Regions from separate parts of the Homo sapiens genome. Here region 1 is linked to region 2. Evidence: promoter capture Hi-C in 16 types of primary human blood cells and fetal thymus (Javierre and others, 2016). All regions are on one chromosome and are shown on one strand. The core of a region is centred on a gene start or on the middle of the fragment in contact, and the rest is flanking DNA. Distances in the headings are between cores, read along the strand shown.

Region 1 (3,870 bases), core at 216-2,715, 240 kb before region 2:
AAGGGAAAGTATTTCTGAGATTATCAGATGATGTTAAATATGAGACTCTATAAAAGATCATTTCATTTCTTTTCCCATAGGTTAAAGTTGAAAAAGATGGATATTTGGTAAACATTATGTATTTACACAGCAATTGCTTATTTTTACCTTTAAAATAAAAAGAGATCTTCCCTCATATGATCTTCCAATAGAGAACATGTGAATGAGGCCTGAGTGAGTTTTATTCAGATGATGCATCCAATTTTGAATCTAAGAGCAAATAAATAAAAACTATGTTAGACTCTCTCAAAATAATGGAGCTTTTAGAGAACAAAAGGAAACAAAAAGACAACAGTAGTTCTCCGAATTCAAGGAGTGCACATGGAATATAAAATTGAACAAAAAACCTACTTCTTATTTTTAATTTTCTTTGGGATACTTAAAATTACATTTAATTTTCTGCCTTTACAGATAGTAGCTTATGTCTTTATATAGTTCTTCCATTAAAGCATACCTTCTACTACCATATATCATTAATATACGGGTAACAGATTTTTATAAAAAATTGATGTGTTCTAGTTTTTTTGAAAATCAGAATTTATTTCTATTTTCCACAAGTATTTAAGAGGTAAAGAAATAAATCAACTTTAGGAAAACTGTCCAAACTACTTGAAAGTGTTTCTTAAAGTCCCATATATTACAATTTGCCACTGAAAGAAAATGCTAAGAAAAAGGCATTATCTTTTTCCATTTAAAGGTTCTTTTACTGAGCTACATATCAGAGGGCAAACTCTGAATAATTTCTCCAGTGATAGTGATACATTTGCATTGATCCATTCATATACACTTATCTGTCATCAGGAAAAGATACATTTGAATGAATAAGGTACTTCATTCCTGACTTAAAAGCCTTATAAGGTGTAAAAAAACAACACAAAAGTGTCCTACCATTTTATGGTATAAAAGGATCAGTGCTGAAAAAATAGCTAAATATATTCAGGAAAGTACCCATATATTCTTTTCTTTCTATTCTTATTTAATCTAATGAGCAGGATATATGTGTGTGTGTGTGTGTGTGTGTATACACATACATTATGCATATCTATATTATATTTGTAAAATTTGACTGTTTTCTAGTGCATGTTAACAGTACTTCTGTGTGCAAAGTTATCTAAAACCTTTCTATTGCTTCTAATTTTAAGCTTCCAAAACATGTTTAGACATGAAATATGTGGAGATAATTTTGAAAGGAGAGTTGTTATCAAGAGAACCAAAAACCGTCTTAAGAATAGAGCAGCATCTCATTTATTTTATGTCTGGCATTCCTTTGTTCAATTCAGAGGAAGCATGGAAAATGTATGATTCATTCATTTATTCCTCTGTCAACAACTATGTATTTGGAGGTCACTGTTTGCCTGCCACTGGAGTTACAGCGGTGAATAAGAAAGAAGTGGCCTGCGCTCATGGAACTTGTAGCTTATTAGAGGTGAAAGGCATTAATCAAATACTCACATAATTACATAATTAAAAACTGTGATAGGTATCACATCCTTGTGCTATGGGGGCATGTAATTCACTAGGTGTTGGTGGAGGAGGGGTTTAATCCAATCTGGGAGAATAGGAACAGCTACCTTTTTGCTTAAGCTGAGATTTGCAGAACAACAACCTGTCCAGGTGAATAGTAAAGGATGTGACAGTGTGGATGAGGTGGCTGTCAGTTCTCCAGGTAGGATAAAAAAGCATGCTCAAAGGTGCAGAGATGCCCCAAATGAAGCTTTGCCTTTGAGAGGTCTCAACTTTGCAGAGGGTACAAGTAAGGTCCACTTTATTCATCATTTCCTCAAACTCTGGTTAGCTTTATGTTTCTTGGCTTGTTAGTGAAGGCCATTATAGCGATAATTATAGCAACATTTCCTCACTCTTCCATTGTGCTTCCTATGTCCTATGTAAAAGTGGTATGGGTAAAGCAAATGAAATTAAAATTATTTTGATACTTCTTATATACCATCAAAGACTTAATAGAAGAGATAAGGTGCCTGGGCCATGTAAAAGCTACATATATTCTTCACATAGTACCTTCTCTGTCTTTATGCTTCTCCCCTAGAAGCATAAAACACATAATTTTCTCCCTTAGACCTAAATGATAAAGATGACTCTGTGAAAAACCAGAAAAAGCTCTTTTGATTACATACTTCTTCTAAGGAGTGATAAACTTCATAATTATATCCAGAGAGGGATCTTCGGTTTCTCTGGGTGTGCAAGCTGCTTCCCTTCTCCAGTGTTTTCTGAAGATCTTCTATGAGGACCCTGAATTTGGAATGACAGACATGATGAAAAGTAAATTGAGATATTGCAAAAATCAGGCAACACCCAGAAAAAATCATATGCATCTATGTAAAGAAAGACTGTGGTGATCAATATTCCTAAAAATACCAAATGTTGGGAAAATGTTATTTTTCAGGAAATGAAAACTGTTAAATAAGTGGTATAATGAATTTAACATGTAAAATTATAGGCAGATATCCTCAAGTGATAGTAGTAGTAACAATAGCTACTGCTGATTTGCAGCTGCAACAACCGAATGATGACTACGAGCACTTAGATTTACTGAGTACTACTTACCTACCAGCAGCCAGGCACTGTGCTGTGTCTTTTATGTACATAATCTTAGCTAATAGCCCTATAGTCTATGTGGTAGATTCTCTTGTTATTGGTATTTATAAAATGGGGAAACTGAGTCTCAAAAGGGTTAAGAACTCACCAATATCCCTCTACTGGTCAGTGCCAAGCCAGAATTTGAACTTGGAAGGTGAACCCAAATTCCAATCTTGAGATTCTAAGTCCAGGGTCACTTCATGAAAACTGAGCCTAGGCTTCTCTTCCATGCCCTTACCACTTTCTTTTTCCTGCTGCTTCTTCCTGCACACATCCCTTCCATCACCAAGAGACTATGCTCATGTCACTACCCAGCACCCCTGACCCAAGACAGAGAGAAAAGGGAAAGGGGAAAAGAAGCTACAGTCCTCAAGAGGAAACTGAAGAAATACCCAGAGTTGGAAAAAGCGATTTCACTGCCTGCCAGCATCAAGAATGCCAAGAGAAGAGAAGCTCAGCCAATTATAGTGAATGCATTTGGAAATTAAAGGCTGAGGCCAGGGCGGGGATTCCAGGCTTTGTGGAACCAGCTCCAGGCAGAGTCATTAGTGTTCTTGATGTGACATGTGAGTTAGATAAATACAGGCCTGTCTTCTCAATGCTCACCAGCCTCCACTAACTAGAGTTTCACACAGTAGCAAAGCACTTCAGTCATTTGCATTACTTAAAGATGTTAGAAAGCCCCCCAGTGATTTTCCTGGGCCTGGCAGGTAGCTAAAAAGCTTTGCTTTCATATTTTATTTTCCAAAAGAACCTGTTGTTTAATGGTTTAAGTGCTATTAAAAGAACATATAATGGCATCTTTAAATAATTTCAAGGCTGAAAGTTATTTAAAGCCTTTAATATTAATGTTTAAAAATTATTTTAAAAAATTATATTGAATCACCTAAAGAAATATTTTCCATTCTATGAAGAAAGTAAATTAACTTAGGGTCATACTGGGTATAGGACATTCTTTTTCATTTACTCATTTGTTATTTATTGAGCACCTACTATGGACAAAACACTTAATCAGGAATTGATCATTGACTTACTGCTTTTTTTGTTTCAATTTTTGATTTTAAAACTGAAAACATTTTAGAAATCGAGGTAAGGTGAGGTGGCTCAAAGCTTGGTTAAGTCCCTGATGGCTGCTTGCAGTGGCTCAAAATGTGAGTGGGAGGTTGTTGTTAGTCTGAACACCATCTGTATTAGTGCTTTCTTTTTTACCCTCAAAGTAGGAAGTTACAGATGATT
Region 2 (3,821 bases), core at 497-2,996:
GTTTATCATCTGACCCGGCATCAGCCAGGAGAGTCAGAATTAAGTCCCCCACAACCCAAGCCTGCACCATCAGTCTTTAAACATGAGCTTCTTTTTTCCAGATCTCTAAAGGGGTCACAAATTATCGGAGGTAAAGTTGAGATCTTGTATGTCCAGGCCAAAAGGCAGCCCTGGGATGTTAACTCCTTTCCGTTCCTCCCAGAAATACTGGGGTGGAAAAATCCGTGATCATATTGCCATCTATAGCCCCTACCTCAGCCAACACCTCCATCTCATCCTGCCTCCCCTAAAACTGAGGACATGTTTCCAAAATTTCCTCTGTAAGCACTGTATTCAGAGGAACCCTAAAGGCAGTGCCAAGATTCTTTGGGAGAGAAAGAGAAATACAATTCTCTTTTCCAGGGTCACACTTACAAATTCTCTTTTACACTATTTCTAAAAAGAACAACTTGGTTTTAAGACACTGTACACTACCTTGTCATGATCCAGATCTACATGAAAACTTTTCTCAGGTGGTGATTATTGAATGATAGTAGCCTATTTAAAAATATGTAAGACACTGAGTTTACTCCTCTGTAAAAAGGAATTGAACTAGAGGAAGTATTTAAGGTTTTTCCAGATCTAAAGTGCAGGCAAGCCATAATTTCCAGATTCTAAGAACGACCCCCTGCATATGTGAGCAAATCACATGCTGTCTATACCACAGCAAGCCTTCAGGATAATAAGAATGTGCATAGTAACACACGGCTTCCAGCCCTCTGCCTCCTGAAGAAAGGCATATAGAAAGCATGCTTACCTACGGAGGGGGGACAAAACTGATTGTTTTACTCCTATGTTTTTCCTTCAGAAAAACTATCCATAATTTTACAGTTGACTACTTTTATTCTGCTTATTTTGAGTTGAATCATTTGCATTGCTCATATTTAAAAATCTAATAACCACTCTACAGACTAATAAGCACAGACAAAAAAAAAATCACACTCAGTTCTTAATCACTGATGAATTTCAACCCACCGCTCCTACATACAATTGTAAAGAAAGGCTTAGTTTTCAGGTCATAAATCATGTAGGACAACAGCATCCCCAAGCATCAACCAAGGCAAACACTGTAAATACTGACCATGGCTACTCCAAAGACAGAATCCCATTCAACCCTGGGTCCACAGCTAAGGTTGGCACATGATAAAAAGTATAAAAAGCCAGGTTGGAGCCCACCACATTCTCTCAGTGAGCTAAAGCCAAGAGCAGAGAGCTGTGAGTACATTTTATATAGAGGACCGTGAAAGTGTGCAGATTCACTCAGAGACCCCCAAATCAGAAAAAGTGAGGCACACTCTGGAGCAAACCAGCCCCCAGATCCAAATCAAAGCTGTGTAGGGCATGAATGTCGCTCCACTTACCCAGCATAGCGGTTGTTATAAAGGTGGCTGTGCCCCGGTTGCAGAATCTTCAAAAAGAGCCAGCAAAGAGGCAGGAAAGCAGCTGCCTGGCCCCTGCGCTTCCCGAGACACTTCATAGTGTTAAGAAGAGAGGAGTTGAAAGTTACTTAAGCAGCCACCCGAGGCTGGAGGTGGCTCACAGCACCCTCTACACACCGCACAGGTTCTCCGGGAAGGGGGTGGGCGAGGAAGGTTGAGAGTGAGCAAAATGTGACACTTCTCTCCAGCTACAAGGGAAAAAAAAAGTTCAGGCAGCTGAGGAAGGGAAGTTGCTATTACGACTTGGTCTTGGGACAAGCAGCAGCAGCAGCAGCAGCAGCTGAGCCTGATCTTTAATCAGGCTCCCCTAGAAAGGGCTGGGCCTCCCTCGTGCTGACTCACGGCAGGGGTTCACTGGGTGCTGCTTCCTTTGGGTGACTCCTCTCTGCTTTTGGTTTGTTTGCTTTCCCAACTTGAGGCCTCTAACTTTTCTGTGCAAGCTTTCTTTCTCTATCTTCTTCAGCATGAGGATCCTACCTAATTGCAAATGATTTGTCTGATGGGCTAAACAAGCAGACATGGATTATTCCAAGCTTAATGTTTTTTTGATCTCCCATGACAGATTCCTAAACGGATTCCACCTAATGAAATGCACAATGAACAATCATGATGAGAACGTGCACGGGGGTACCTATAGCACCCAGATCCGAACAGCTGGCTTCAGTTCACTGCTCCTGACTTACAGGAGTGGTCAGTGGCTTTATTGGGCTTCAGGGAGATCTTGGTACTCATTCTGCATCAGCAGCACCCAGACCTGCTGCTGTTTCAGAGGTTCTCGTGGGGAATAGGAGGCCTTCGAGTGCTTTGCCACCTTGGCTGTACATTTGGAATCATTTAGGGAGCCAGACCTTGAAAATAGAAACCGTGGTGGTGGGATCAGTGGTTTAAAAAGCTCCTTAGGTGATTCCAATATTCAACCACCATGCTGGTCTGGAGCAGGGCTTCTCAGAGCTCCACATGCATAGAAGTCACCTGGGGATCTCATTAAACTGCAGCTCTGACGTAGGTTGGAACAGGGGCCTAAGAGTTTTTATTTTTCTTTTTTGAGACAGAGTTTCGCTCTTGTTGCCCAGGCTGGATGGAGTGCCAAGTCCCCATCTCGGCTCACTGCAACCTCCGCCTCCCAGGTTCAAGCGATTCTCCTGCCTCAGCCTCCTGAGTAGCTCGGATTACAGGTGCCTACCACCACGCCCAGCTAATTTTTGTATTTTTAGTAGAGACGAGGTTTCCCCATGTCGGTCAGGCTGGTCTTGAACTCGTGACCTCAGGCAATCTGCTTGTCTCGGCCTTGCGAAGTGCTGGGATTACAGGTGTGAGCCACCACGCCTGGCCGAGTCTGCATTTCTAAAGAAGCTTCCAGGTGATGCTGGTGCCACTGGCTCTTCAGCCACACTTGGAGTAGCAAGACTTCACTTTAGAATGAGGTCTGCTTTTTCTTCCAAGCAAACCTTGGAGAAAACCATTTCCTTCTCTTTTTTCCCATGTTGATGATGAAAGCTTTTTAAAATTATTATTTGCATCCACTTGCTCCTATTCCAATACGCCACAAAACCCATTACAGGGGATGTGCCTCGCCCTATTAAATAAGCATAGGCACCTAGGGTGCCTCCTGTTACCTTTCATGCCCAGTCCTGGTTGTGCTCTAAAACAGAGAGTGAGCCACTATTTCCTCATCACACTCACAAAACTTTTCAGGCTTCCTGGAGAGTCATAGCCAAGAACTCCTGTACCCTCTAATACTATAGCCAGAGTCCCTGTTAGAAGAGAGAGCACCCAATCTTTCCCATCTTCTCTACCTGGGGAGTTGAACCAAAACTCCTTTGACAGATTCAATGTCAGGTTCATGAAACAGCTGAAATGGTTTTCATTTGAAATGATGCTCTGAATTTTTCTGCAACTTTCTCAGCATCAGTTTGGTTAATGCCTCCTCTGTGTCCCTCACAAATCCTGGCATGTCCTCTACTGTAGGAATTACCACATCAAATTTCTTGTCTGGTTTCCTCATGAGGCTGCTTTCTCCTTGAATACAGAACTGTATCCTTTTGGTCTTCCTGTGCACTTCCTTATACCTCCTCGAGGGAATACAATGTTTCCTGAAGGAGTGATCAACGATGTCTGTTGGATGAACGATGAACCAGGGAAGAAATTCATTTAACAAACATTAACATAGATGCTTCTGTGTCCAGATAGAGGAGAGAGCACCTTGGGAGCAGAGAACACTATGGGTGCTTTTGGAGAGTGGAAGTTCCCCGGGTGATCATGTCTGGTTTCGTTTCTTTTTTATGTTGCCTTCTTTCCTGACTTCCTGGCCTTGTACTTTTGTCTTCCTAAACTGGTCAGGCT

The links. Contacts are between HindIII fragments. The CHiCAGO score rates a contact against its expected background, and 5 or more counts as called.
Region 1: a contact is called between a fragment that was not itself captured here and the fragment with the promoter of CPA6 in region 2, in 1 of 17 cell types (M1 macrophages). The highest score is 6.9, in M1 macrophages.

What each region holds. Positions count from the first base shown.
Region 1 is chr8:67,509,370-67,513,239 of GRCh38, forward strand. CPA6 (carboxypeptidase A6) reads right to left here. Exons shown (of 11, transcript NM_020361.5): 4 at 2,172-2,286; 5 at 148-249. Among named protein-coding and RNA genes, the nearest start is that of ARFGEF1-DT, 170 kb to the left of the region's middle. RefSeq lists an enhancer at 2,941-3,543. The HindIII fragment of the contact is 572 bases long and covers 1,180-1,751 here.
Region 2 is chr8:67,744,614-67,748,434 of GRCh38, forward strand. It overlaps CPA6 (carboxypeptidase A6), which reads right to left and starts at 1,747. Exons shown (of 11, transcript NM_020361.5): 1 at 1,401-1,747. The coding sequence starts at 1,516. RefSeq lists an enhancer at 1,573-2,073. The HindIII fragment of the contact is 5,003 bases long and covers 1-1,916 here.